Linked DNA regions of Homo sapiens: regions 2 and 3 are each linked to region 1. Evidence: promoter capture Hi-C in human tissues and cell types (Jung and others, 2019). All regions are on one chromosome and are shown on one strand. Each heading gives the region's core, a stretch centred on a gene start or on the middle of the fragment in contact. The rest is flanking DNA. Distances are from core to core; before and after follow the strand shown. Region 1 holds the start of CD82 (CD82 molecule). Region 2 has its middle 16 kb from the start of CRY2. Region 3 has its middle 3.5 kb from the start of TTC17.

Region 1 (4,262 bases), core at 1,091-3,590:
ATATCCCCACACGTTCCCAAACTTCAGCCAGAATGAGCAACCTAGAGGTTTCTCGAGAATTCTCAGGACAGGTTGACCTCCCTGCCTCTGCCTAGGCATTTTCCTCTCCTCAAGACACTATCTTCATTCTGGCTGCCGAAATCTTCCCAGTCTGTAAGGCCCTGAAGATCCCTCTAATCCTTTTTTCATTTATCTTCCATCAGAGTCCCTGGTATTCTTGTGTAAGCCCCTTCCCGGATGGTAAGCAACCTGAGGGTGCAGGCCTTATGTGGTCGCTTGTCATTCATCGAGCAGGAAGTGGGGGTGGTGGTGGGGAGGGCTTTCCATTAAGGCTCACTAGGTAGGCTCTGTTGAAATGAACGTCTCCTCCTCCCCACCTCAGGCACCACCTACCAGACCCTCTCCCTCCCCACCATACCAAACTCCAATTTATGCCACTTCAGTGCTTGAAGAGACTGTGGTCCCATGTTGATCCAAGCCAAACCAGGACCAGGAGCCCAGAGAGAAAGTCCTATTCAAGTCTCACCCCCTCCAGGAAGCCTCCTTACCCCCACCCCCTGCCCTGGCTTCTCAAGTGTCTCACTCTTCTGAACACCTCCCCCTGCCCTACATACACACACAGTCTCCTGCACACAGCGCAGCCGCCAGTCCGTCTCTGTCCCACAGCACTTTCCAGTTTGTTCCATACTGTACAGCTTATCTCCCAGAAGATGCAGGGAGCCAATATAATGCAGCACCTTCAGCGTCCTTCAGTGTCCAACCCTGCTTAGATATCGGGTGCCCACATTGCCCCTCGCCCCCATCCCAAGCCAAGTGTGCAATGGTATAGCTGGATTCCAGCCACCAGGGCAGAACAGACCCATGAAATCTCATCTGGTTATAAGCCCTGGGTGTGACTGATCCTCTCTACAGGGACATGGTAGGGATGGGGGAGCCCTCATTGTCAGCAACTCAGGCCTGGCTAGTTCACCTCTGTATCCTCTAGCTCTCTCTAGCATATAGTAGGTGCTCAGTAAACATTTTTAGACTTATTTAACTCAACACTTACCAACCTCAAGCAACATTACAGAAAACTCAGCCACTCTTTGTTCCAGATGACACAGTCCTCATCCCTCAAATAGAGTGATGTTGGTGGCAGGTGGCAATTTCTGGCTTTCACAAGGTCAGGAGGGGCTGTAGCCAACCCCATCTCTCCAAGAAAAAAAAAAGGCTCATTCCCCATAGGAAGCAAGCCCATCACCTGCCCACCCGCATCAAAGCAGCTGTCACAGAGGGAGGTCTCACTGGTTTCCTGGCACCTTGCTAAGTAGTGTATACACATTATTCTATTTAGTGCTTGCTCCTGCTATTGGATATTGTCATTATCCCCATTTTACAGGTGAGGAAACTGAAGTTTGGAGGGGGAATGGAATCCAAATCAGTTTGATCCCAAAGCCCAAGCCTTGACCACAGAACTATGCTGCCCCGCTACTGGGGCCCAGCACAGAGCACCCACCACCTCCAGGAACAGAACCCGTCAGCCAAGAAATTAACCCCGGGTATGCTTCAAGGGCCCCTGGGGCCCTGGGCTTGACCCTGGGCCCAAGGATTGGTGGGGTTTTCCCTTCTCTTCCCCACTCACCAGTGTAAGAACTGTTCCCCAGTTTCCAACCTCCTGCTCAGGCCAGCTCACCTGGAAAAGCCCCACTGAGTTTCCAACTTGAAGTCTTAGGGGGTCCGGCTCAGTTGAACTGTTAGAATTGGTGGGAAGCAGGTGAGGCGGGAAATGGAACCTCCCTGCTTTGGCCTCCTCTTCCCCAGGGTTGGTGGGTTCGAGCCCCAACCGAGGAAACAGTGCACTCTTTAAAGCAATTCGCTTCTCTCAGTCCCATTTTGCAGGGAGAGAAACTGCAGAGGGCAACGCGATGGGAACACCTGTGGCGACCTGCAGCCTGCTCTCACCTGCCAGCTCTCACCTTCCGGCGTTTTAAGTGAGAAAGGGCAACGGGAGCGTGGAATTCACCTGGTTCACTTCCTCCTGCTGGAACCCGGGAGGTCCAGAGCCAGGTAGAGGGACGGACCCAGGATCACGCAGCTGTGCACGGCCGAGTGTGAGAACTGGGGGTTCAGGACTGGTGGCTAAAGCTCCTTTTCACCCACCAGCTGCCCCGACCTGTCACTAGTTCCGAGGAAAGTTGTCCGAGCCGGACCGCAGAAGCGGGGGCTAAAACTAACTTTGCCTATGGTTGTCCGGCAGGCTACCCCGGCCCGCTGCCCCCTTGCTCACCTGCGGGTTCTGCTTTCTGCTCCGCGCTGCAGGCCCAGCGTCACCCGCTCGTGCCTCAGTCGGCGTCGGACTGCACAGCCCGGGGCTCAGTCACTCCTCGGCCCCCTCCCGGCTGCAGCCGGGGAACGCCGCGGACTCGGCAGGCCCCGCCCCCAGAAGACACGCCCCCTCCGCCGGCCCCGCCCCCGAGCCCTTTGGGAAGGCGGTGCGCTCCCGCCGGCCAGGCCCCGCCCACTATGGCCGTACCCCAACCAGCCTCGCCCCCGGGCCCAGCTGGAGCTGAGGCCCCGCCCCGCTACGGAGTCTCTCCTCTATCCCGGCAGCCCCGCCCCCAGGTTACACTGGGGATTAAGCCCGCCCCGCTCCAGCCCTGTCCACTCACGGCGCTGCCTAACGGTCCCGCCCAGCTCCCGCCTACCTCGTCCTCCCGGTCTCCTCCCGGGCCCTCCCAGCGCCCCCGCCTCCTTCACTTTCTCCTTCGAGCCCACCCCATCCCCCGGCCCTAGTAGGGTGAGGCCACGCCCCTCCCCGCACCAGCCTGGGCTCAGCGCCTTCCTAATCCTGCCCTGCCCTGCCCCTCTCATCTCGGGCGGGTAGCCCTGGGGCCCCCACGCTGGCATTCCAGGGCGGGTGTATCCGGGTGCCGCCGGGGAACGGCGTGGGAGCGGTTTGTGTCCTAAGTCGGGGCCTCTATCAGGAGGCGGCCTGGGCCCAGGAACTTTTTGAAAATACTGACTACCATTGATTGAATCCTTGCCAGGGGCCAGGCTCTATGCCAAGCGCTGAATACAGTTCTAGCCCTTGAATTCCCACAACTCATGGGTACTCTCGTTGCGCCTATTTTACTAATGCGCAGTTTAAGGCTCAGAGAAGGGAAGTCGAGGGCTCTGAATCTCATGGAGGCGGGCGTGAGCGGGATCCAGCCTCAGGTCCTGAGTCACAGGCTTGAGCTGCCCCAGCTTGCCTGGACTGGCCCCTGGGGAAGTAGCCCAGAACAACCAGTGCTGGGGCAGTGCCCAGCAGCTGCCTGAGGTGAGGGAGGAGGTGTGGGTTGATGAGAATAGTGGCAGGAGGGGCTGTGGGCCTAAGCCCTCAAAGCTGGCTTTCTCCCTGAAGAAAAAGTGGCCCAAAATTGAGGTGGGCTGCAAGAGCTCTCTAGGTGGCTGCGGTGCCCACCCTGCGTCCCAGCCCTCTGCCCTCCCAGGCTCCAGAGGACTAGCCTCAGGCAGATTACCTGGTTAATGACCAGGGGCATTCACCTGTGCAGCTGACAAAGCTCTTTCACTTCCATTATCACAATGTCCTCTCACAACACACCGTTGTGGGAGGGTATGATTATGAGCGCTTTGTACGAGTGGAGTAAGGGCGGGAGCTGGATCCCAGCCCAGCACTGTAGTTCTCACAGCGTGGTCCTTGAACCAGGAGCAACATCATCTGGGAACTTGTTAGGAGTGCGTATTTTGAAGCCCCATCCCAACTTACTGAATGGAAAACTGTGGGACAATTGGTTTTAATAAGGCCTCCAGGTGATTCTGAATCACATTCAAGCATGAACCACTGTTGAGCAAACTGTAAAGAAGTCAGGGTGGTCTGAGAATCACACAGACCTAGGTAGCTTCCTGGTTGCGTTTTAAACCCAGGACAAGGCAAGATACTTAACCTCTGGGATGAGCCCTTAAACAGGGAATAATAATAAAATGAGCCATAACAATCATACCGATCTTGATGGTAGCTGTTGAAGATTACATGTGACAGCATTCATAAAGTATTTGGCCCACCGCTTGAATGCCGTACATGCTCAGAAAATGTTCTCTTTTCAGCAAAAAGTCTCCTTCATAGCATTCCCACACCAAGTCAGAAAAGTGAGGCTGGAGAATCCTTTAAACCCAGCAGTGTGTCATACCCGCAGAGAGACACCCTCTATCCTGCAAGTGGTTAAGATCCTAACAAGCTCCTAGATGATGTGGATGCTGGTCCGGGGACCACACTTTGAGAA
Region 2 (4,262 bases), core at 751-3,250, 1.3 Mb before region 1:
TTGATGTCTCATGTCTCCCTAAAATGTGTAAAACCAAGCTGTGCCCTGCCCACATTGGGCATCTGTTGTCAAGACTTCCTGAGGCTGTGTCACGGGCGTGTCTGCAATCTTGGCAAAGTACACTTTCCAAATTAACTGAGACCAGTCTCAGATTTTCTGGGTTCACAGGAGGCTATGCTCAGATCACCTGGGACTGAGCCCTTACTCACTTCCACCACTCAGAAAAGCTGCCCTTAGTTTCTCCTTGAGAGACAAGGTGCTGCCTCCATAGTGGACTCTATATTAATAAAGTACAAACAGGCTGGGTGTGGTGGCTTGTGCCTGTAATCCTAGCACTTTGGGAGGCTAAGGCGGGAGGATCACTTGAGGCCAGGAGTTTGAGGCTGTAACGAGGTATGATGGTGCCACTGCACTCCAACCTGGGTGACAGAACAAGACCCTGCCCAAATAAATAAATAAGTAAATAAATAAATAAATAAATAAAGCAAACACAAGAAAGCAAAACCAAGAGGAGGGTCTCCAACCAACAGAACAGGGGCACGTAACCTTGTTTAATTTCAAAACAGAAATTTTACAGGTTGTTGCTCAAGAAAACAGTAACCATTCTTAAAGCTCAAGGGAAGAAAGAGGAGTGTGTGTGTTTGAGGGCCCCTTAGGGGCTTTTAATGGGATTTGGAGTCAGATAGACCTGGATTCAAATTCCAGCTCGGATATTTGCTGTGTGGCCTTGGACAAGTTACTTACCTTCTCTGAGCTGCAGTTTCCTTATCTATAAAATGGAGATAGTAATCTTACCTTCCTCTGAAGGCTGTTGCAAGGATTCTGATTGCTAAATTGTGTAATGCACACCGCACAGTGCCTTGCACATAGAAGCTTCTTGTTGAATGACGGTCAGGATGATCACGTTATTATCGTTACTGGCTCAGGTATGTTTTTCTCAATCTTGTTATTTTGGACCAGACGGTCCTTTGCTGTGGTGGCTGTCCTGAGCACTGTAGGATGTTTAGCAGCATTCCTGGCCCCCACCCACCAGATTCCATAGCAACTCTCCAGCTGTAACAGCCACATGTCTCCAGACAGTGCCAAATCGCCCCTAGTTGAGAACTACGGAGCTGGAGGTAAATGCCTTGGAGATTGAGGGAGCGATCATGTGGGTTGATCCAAAAAATCTGACCCAGACAGGAGGACCTGATGTGGTGGGGGATGGAAATGGAGGAACAGGATGGGCCAAGGGTTAAGGGGCCAAGTCAAACCAGCAGATCCCAAATGAGCAGAGAAGGCGGGGGTAGGCTCTGAGCAGAAATGGGCCCAAAAATCCCAAAGAGGGTAGGTCCAACAGTTTCATCTGGGTTTCTGTTTATTTGTGTAATGGAATTTGTTTTTCCAGTTGTAAAAGTAGTGTAAGTTCATTTTAAACAAGTTGGCAAGTCCACAGAAAAGCCAATCAGAAAATAAAAATCTTGGCTGGATGTGGTGGCTCATGCCTGTAATCTCAGCACTTTGGGATGCCGAGGTGGGTGGATCACCTGAGGTCAGGAGTTCCAGACCAGACTGATCAACATGGTGAAACCCCGTCTCTACTAAAAATACAAAATTAGCTGGATGTGGTGGCACATGCCTGTAATCCCAGCTACTAGGGAGGCTGAGGCAAGAGAATCACTTGAACCCGGGAGGTGGAGGTTGTTGTGAGCTGAGATTGTGCCATTGCCCTCCAGCCTGGGCAACAACAGTGAAACTCCGTCTCAAAATTAAATAATAATAATAATAATAATAATTTAAAAAGAAAAATCTTAAGTAATCCCAGCACAATTACACGATAGAGTGTGATGTGCTCATTTGCTCTTTTTGTTCTTGTTGTTTAAGAAACAAACATTTCTTAGTGCTCACTGTGTGCAGGCCCTGCTGGGTGCTGGGGTGTCTGTGTGGGTGGGTGGGTAGGACTGTTCACATGCTCTGGACAAGACAGTGTGGGGGACAGCCTTGACTGCAGGTAGGCACAGTAGGGGTGGTGTGGTGGGGAGAGCAGAGCCTGTTCCTAGGGATGCTGCTGGTCATTTTTGTCCTCTTCTACTGGCCTCCTCCTTTGAGGATCCTTGCAGTGTCCTGGTCCTGGCTCCCTGGTCTGGATCTTTTTGGAATCTGCCCGTTCCTTTCTATCCATGCGGCCCTGCATAAGCTGCCTCCATCCACCTTGTTAGTTTCCTCCTCATGCTCCACTTTGCTTTCTGTGTGCACCAGCCACCCTGATGTTCTGTCCTTGCCTCACCTCCATCCTGTTTCATTTTCTTCAGTTTTTAAAAATTGTGGTAAAATATACACATAGCATAAAATTTACCATTTTAATCTTTTTTTTTTTTTTGACAGGGTCTTGCTCTGTCACACAGGCTGGAGTACAGCAGTGTGATCATGGCTCACTGCAGCCTCGACTTCTTGGGCCCAAGCCATCCTCCTGCCTCAGCCTCCTGTTGTAACAGTAGTGTAGCTGGGTCCCAGCTGTGTAGCTGGGACCACAAGTGTGTGCCACCATGCCTGGTTAATTTTTGTATTTTTTTTTTCCTTTTGGAGAGATGGGGCTTTGCTGTGTTGCTCAGGCTGGTCTCGAACTCCTGGGCTCAAGCAATCCTCTGATCTCAGCATCCCAAAGTGTTGGGATTACAGGTGTGAGCCACCGCACCTGGCCTGACCATTTTTAAGTATACAATGCAGAGGCATTATGTACATTCAGTGTTGTTCAACAATCACCACTATCCATTTCCATAACTTGTACATTATCCCAAATAGAAACTCTGTACCCATGAAACAATAACTCCCCATTCCCCCTGCCCCAAGATCTCAGTTACCTCTATTCTATTTTTGTCTCTATCAATTTGCTTATTCTGGGAACCTCATATGTCTGGCCTCTTTCACTTTAGCCCATATTTTCAAGGATCATCCATGCTGCAGCATGTATCAGTACTTCATTCTGCTCTATGCTGAATAATATTCCATTGTAGGTCTACATCACGTTTTGTTTATCCATTCATCCATTGACAGATACTTGTTTCCACCTTTTGGCTGTCGTGAATAGGGCTGCTATGAACATCGGTGTACTCTTCTTTTTAAACAGCTTTATTGAGATATCATTTACATATCAAAAAATGCACCCAGTTAAGTGTACAATTCAATGCTTTTTATTCTAGTCACAGAGTTGTGCAACCACCACCACCATCTAATTTTAGAAGATTTTCCCTCACCTCACACCCCCAGCTCTAGGCAGCCAGGGATCTATTTTCTGTCTATAGAGATTTGCCAATTCTGGACATTTCCTATAAATGGAATCAGACAATATGTGGTCTTTTGAACCTGCCTTCTTCATTCAGCATAATGCTTACAAGGTTCATCCATCATCACCTGTTTTGTAAGTGAAATTGTATTAGAACACAGCCCTGCTCATTTGTTTACATCTGATCCACGGCTTTGAGCTTCACAGACAGAGTTGCGACTTATAAAGTTGCACGGCTCACAGAATCAAAAGGAGCTACTATCTACCCTTTTACAGAAAAAGTTTGCTGACTCCTGGTTTATGCCCTCCAAGTTGAGCTTTCTGGAGTCTAAACTGATAAAGGCACCAAAAGATAAAAAGCGAAAAGAGGCAAAACTGATGCCAAGAACCCCAGGCCTATAAAAGCTACCATTATTGGGCCCCCACCATAGTGTAAAGCATCCCAGCCAGCCAGGCAAAGAAACACAGCAGAGGCAGAGCCCGCCTCACCTGGGAGGAGGAAGGAGAACTGTTCAACACCAAAGACAACTTTTTCTAGCAGGCTCTAATCACTCGGGGCACCTTATAGAAAGTGCATTGGCCTTCCCTGGGAAGAGCAAGTGAAGACGCCATTAGAGGAAGGGGGTTCAGCAGGCTGGATGCATGGCCCATGGTGACTCTGGCAAGCTGGTTCAACATACAGCCAAGCTTGGCAGATCCTGAGGTATCAAAGAATTCCCCAAGGCTCTCACCAAACTGTTGTGGGCCAAAATGGTTAGTACTCATTTTTTTATTTTTTCTTCTTTTTTTTTTTGAGACAGAGTTTCACTCTTGTCACCCAGGCTGGAGTGCAGTGGCACGATCTCAGATTGCAAGCTCACTGCTCGCCTGCCACCATGCCCGGCTAATTTTTGTATTTTTAGTAGAGATGGGTTTTCATCATGTTGGCCAGGCTGGTCTCGAACTCCTGACCTCAAGTGATCCAGCGGCCTTGGCCTCCCAAAGTGCTGGGATTACAGGC
Region 3 (4,262 bases), core at 768-3,267, 1.2 Mb after region 1:
AGAATAATAAGTGAAAAGGTGAAGTTGGCCGGGCGCGGTGGCTCACGCCTGTAATCCCAGCACTTTGGGAGGCCGAGGTGGATGGATCACTGAGGTCAGGAGTTCAAGACTGGCCTGGCCAAGATGGTGAAACCCCGCCTCTACTAAAAATACAAAAATCAGCCGGGCATGGTGGCGGGCACCTGTAATTCCAGCTACTTGGGAGGCTGAGGCAGAGAATTGCTTGAACACGGGAGGCGGGGATTGCAGTGAGCCGAGATCACACCACTGCACTCCAGCCTAAGTGACAGAGCGAGAATCCGTCTCAAGAAACGAAAAGGTGAAGTCAGTGGCATGTTTTAAGAGTTTCTTGGAGTTTAGACATAGGCAATAGGGAGTGTTTCAGAATTTTAAAATAGAGAAGTGGCAAATGATGGAATCCCTTTTGTCTCAGCATCTTATTTTTGGGGCATAGAGGTCAACCCTATTTCTTGTGTATAAAGCTGACATCATCATCATCTAACATTTCTTGAGTGTTTAATACGTACTGGGTCCTGTACATGCATAGTTCCTATTAATCGTCACAACTTACCAAGCTCTGGCTAGTTAAGTAAGTTGGCCAAGATCATATTGCTAAGTGGTAGAGCTCAGGTTTGGACTCAGATCCACCTGACTCTAGATCTGAGAGCCTGAGAATGAATGAATGTTAGTGAGGAATTTGAGAAAGGCCCCAGCATCACATATTTTGCTATCAGCAATTTCTTTGACCTTCACAAGTTAACCTCTAAAGGGGTGGAATTATAGCTTCTATAGCTTTATTATACCACCTATTTTCTGTAGATGATAACTCTTATCTTTTGGGATCCTGTATTAGTTTTCTAATGCTGTGTAACAATTGCCACAAACTTAGCTTAACACATTATCTGACAGTTTCCTTGGGGCAAAAGTCTTCTGCTGTGGTGTGACTGAGTTCTCTGCTCAGTGTCACAAGGCTCATATCAAGGCTGCAATCTCATCTGAGGCTTGGGGTTCCTCAGTCAAGCTCATTCTTCAAGTCCTTGGCAGAATTCAATTTATTGCCAATGTAGGACTGAGGGCTCCATTTTCTTACTGGCTGCTGATTGTGGCCATTAACATTGAGGCTACCCACAGTTTTCTGCCATGTGGCTCTCACAATGGCAGTTATTCCTTGAAGGCAAGCAGAATATTTCCACTGCTGAAATCTCTTGAATTCCTCTATCTCTAAGCCTAGACTTAAAGGGCTCATGTGAGTTGATAAGGTCTATCTGAATAATATCCCTTTTTATTCAACTGATTAGTAACTTTAATGCCATCTGCAAAAATTTCGTTTGCCATATAACATTATCTTAGTCCATTTTGTGTTGTTATAACAGAATACCTAAAGCTGGGCAATTCATAAAGAAAAGAGGTTTAATTGGCTTATGATTCTGGTGGCTGAAAAGTCCAAGATTGGGCAGCCGCATCTGGTAAGGGCCTCACGCTGCTTCCACTTAGGGAGGAAAGCAGAAGGGGAGTGGGTGTGCATAGAGATCACATGTTGAGAGAAGCAGCAAGAGAGACAAATCAAGAAAGCCAAACTCTTTTAACAACCCACACTCGAGAACTAATTCATTCCTGAGAGAGCAAGAACTCACCTCCCCCCCCACCACCGTGAGGGCATTAATCTGTTCATGACAGATCCACCCCCATGACCCAGAAACCTTCCACTAGGCCCCATCTCCCAACACTGCCACATTGGGTACCAAATTTCAACATGAGTTTTGGCGGCCCTAACCACATCCAAACCTATGATCACAGGAGTGATATCGTATTCATGTTTTACCCACATAGTCAAGTTAGGAAATTTCCCCCTTTTCTACTCTATTAAGGTGAAATGGACAAAATTGTATATATTTAGTGTACAACATGATGTTTTAATATACGTAGGGGAGATTTTATGCGGGCAAGGACCATTGGGTATCATCTTAGAATTTTGCCTACCACAGATCTTGACTGCCAAGTACCATTCTTCTAGTCTTTCACTGAACTGTTTTAAGTATCACAGACTAATTTAGACATACTTTTGCTCCTGTTCCCTGCCTAAAATCCTTTCCTCATGCTGCTTTCTCAAATCTATTTAAGATACAGTTGAAATCCTAGCCTGCAAAAATGTCTGTCAACTTGTTTGCCACCTCTGAATTCTGTCAGTAATATGACAATACTATGCTGCTTTGTGATATTATTTTATAAACTTTGAACAGCCAAACTCTTGAGTGGTTCTTGCAATAGTTCTTAGTTCTAATCTGGTGAGGCAGAACACTCAAACAGTAAGTCAGGCAAAGCAAATTTTTTACAAATAGGCAGCAAAGATACACAGAAATGGAGGATCCATGGTTAGCTGATCCCATGGCTCAGGAAAGCTGCTTAGGGCAGATGGAGCCTCATCTGCACATACCCCATGTTGCAGCACAGATGAGGGACTCCAAAAACACTTTGGGTTTTATACCCTGGGTGTAACTGAGATTGCTGAGTACAAGTGTTGCAGAACATCCTGTTTTAGGAAAAATGAGGACGCAGCCCAGGTTGTTCTGGAAGCTTCCTCCTTATCTCAGGATGTTGCATTCTCAGTACATTCTGCCTGAAAATTGCAAGCAAGAGGGGGAAGAGCTGGCATGGCCAAGGCCATCCAGGGACCTGTCATCTTGCAATTCTATAATTACCTACACTAGCAACTGAGGGCAGGAAGCATTTCCTATACTAACATTTTTATCTTCCTTGGAACTTCTGTGCAAAATAGTTTGTTGACTCAGTTTTTTAGCTCCCCCAAATGTAGCATTCCCATTTTGTGTGAATAAAACAAAAAACTTAAATAAAATTGTTCCTACTAATTTTCTACATCCAGATCACTTGTCACCGTTCTTTTATTCTGTTGTTCTAAGATCTGATGTTTCTTTTTTCATTATACTTTTCCTCTTCGATGAAATTTATAGAAATACAGGATGGCAGTTGACAAAATTGCTGATATCTCAAATTGTGATTCAATTGTTAGTTCAACGAATGATAGGCAAGTCCCTAACTGCATGTAATTTAGTCTTTCAACATATTTTAGCAAATAGGTCTTTTATTTACTATTACTATAAATCATAGAATTCTTGAAGTTATGAATTAGAATTCATTCTGTTGATAGAATGAATGATCTTTCTGGATTAACGTCCTCCCTTGGGCCACCTTACCTGAAAATTGCAAAGGATTTACATACTGCCTATTCCTTAGAGAAAATATTTAAGATATAAATACCCCTAGGGAGGAGGGTAACACTCTGGCTTACATTCTGTTATCTTTTGCTTTGTAATAAAACCAATGTAAGTCTTAGAGGTTTAAATTTTAAGCCTTAAAACATGATTTATTATTTTTCAGTTTGTTGGACTCAGCTGGGTGGTTCTTCTGCTACTCCTGGTGTTGGCTGGGGTCACTCTTAAGGCTGCATTCAGCTAGGAGCTCAGCTGAGGCTGAAATGTTCCAAACTGGCTCCACCATGTCTGGTGCTTTACTTGGAGTGGTTGAAATGGCTGGGGGTAGCTGGGCCTCTCTTAGACAAGGAGTTACATAGACTTCTTACAGGGTGGCTCAGGGTGCTGAAAGAATAAAAGGAAGCTGCCAGGCTTTCAGAGGGTCAGGCCCCAGAAGTGGTAAAGCATCATTCTGCATTCTCCTGGTTAAGGAAAGTAACAAGCTTAGCCCAAATTCAAGTGTGGATGGACACAGATTTATCTTGATAGGAGAAACAGCATGTTTGAGTAGGAATGGAAGGAATTATTGGCATCCTACTATATATAATTCTTTTTTTTTTTTTTTGAGCTGGAGTCTTGCTTTATTGGCAGGCTGGAGTGCAGTGGCACAATCTCGGCTCACTGCAACCTCCGCCTCCCAGATTCAAGCAATTCTACCTCAGCCTCCCTAGTAGCTGGGACTACAAGTGTACGCCACCACGCCCGGCTAAATTTTGTATTTTTAGTAGAGACGGGGTTTCACCATGTTGGTCAGGATGGTCTCGATCTCTTGACCTTGTGATCCACCCACCTCGGCCTCCCAAAGTGCTGGGACTACAGGGGGTGAGCCACTGCGCCTGGCCATAATTAAGTCTTTAAGAGTAATTTTGAGTTGGTTGGAAGCAGGGTGGAGGGGAACAGGTTGGAAAGGAGCCTGGTTATAGCAAGAAGGGTTTTACATGTGTAACTCTTCAACATCAATATGCACGGTGAGCGAAGAGGATTTTTAAAAGG

Evidence for each region. The method cuts DNA at HindIII sites, captures the fragments that hold promoters and counts their contacts. A contact is called where the count stands out against the background at its distance.
Region 2: a fragment that was not itself captured here is called in contact with the fragment with the promoter of CD82 in region 1 in 1 of the 25 tissues and cell types used here (mesenchymal stem cells).
Region 3: a contact is called between a fragment that was not itself captured here and the fragment with the promoter of CD82 in region 1, in 1 of the 25 tissues and cell types used here (aorta).

What each region holds. Positions count from the first base shown.
Region 1 is chr11:44,563,741-44,568,002 of GRCh38, reverse strand. CD82 (CD82 molecule) reads right to left here and starts at 2,340. Exons shown (of 10, transcript NM_002231.4): 1 at 2,267-2,340. RefSeq lists enhancers at 1,252-1,321, 1,827-2,327 and a silencer at 2,242-2,841. The HindIII fragment of the contact is 10,159 bases long and covers 1-4,262 here.
Region 2 is chr11:45,829,751-45,834,012 of GRCh38, reverse strand. No RefSeq gene overlaps it. Among named protein-coding and RNA genes, the nearest start is that of CRY2, 16 kb to the left of the region's middle. The HindIII fragment of the contact is 5,925 bases long and covers 1-4,262 here.
Region 3 is chr11:43,353,245-43,357,506 of GRCh38, reverse strand. No RefSeq gene overlaps it. Among named protein-coding and RNA genes, the nearest start is that of TTC17, 3.5 kb to the left of the region's middle. The HindIII fragment of the contact is 5,525 bases long and covers 1-4,262 here.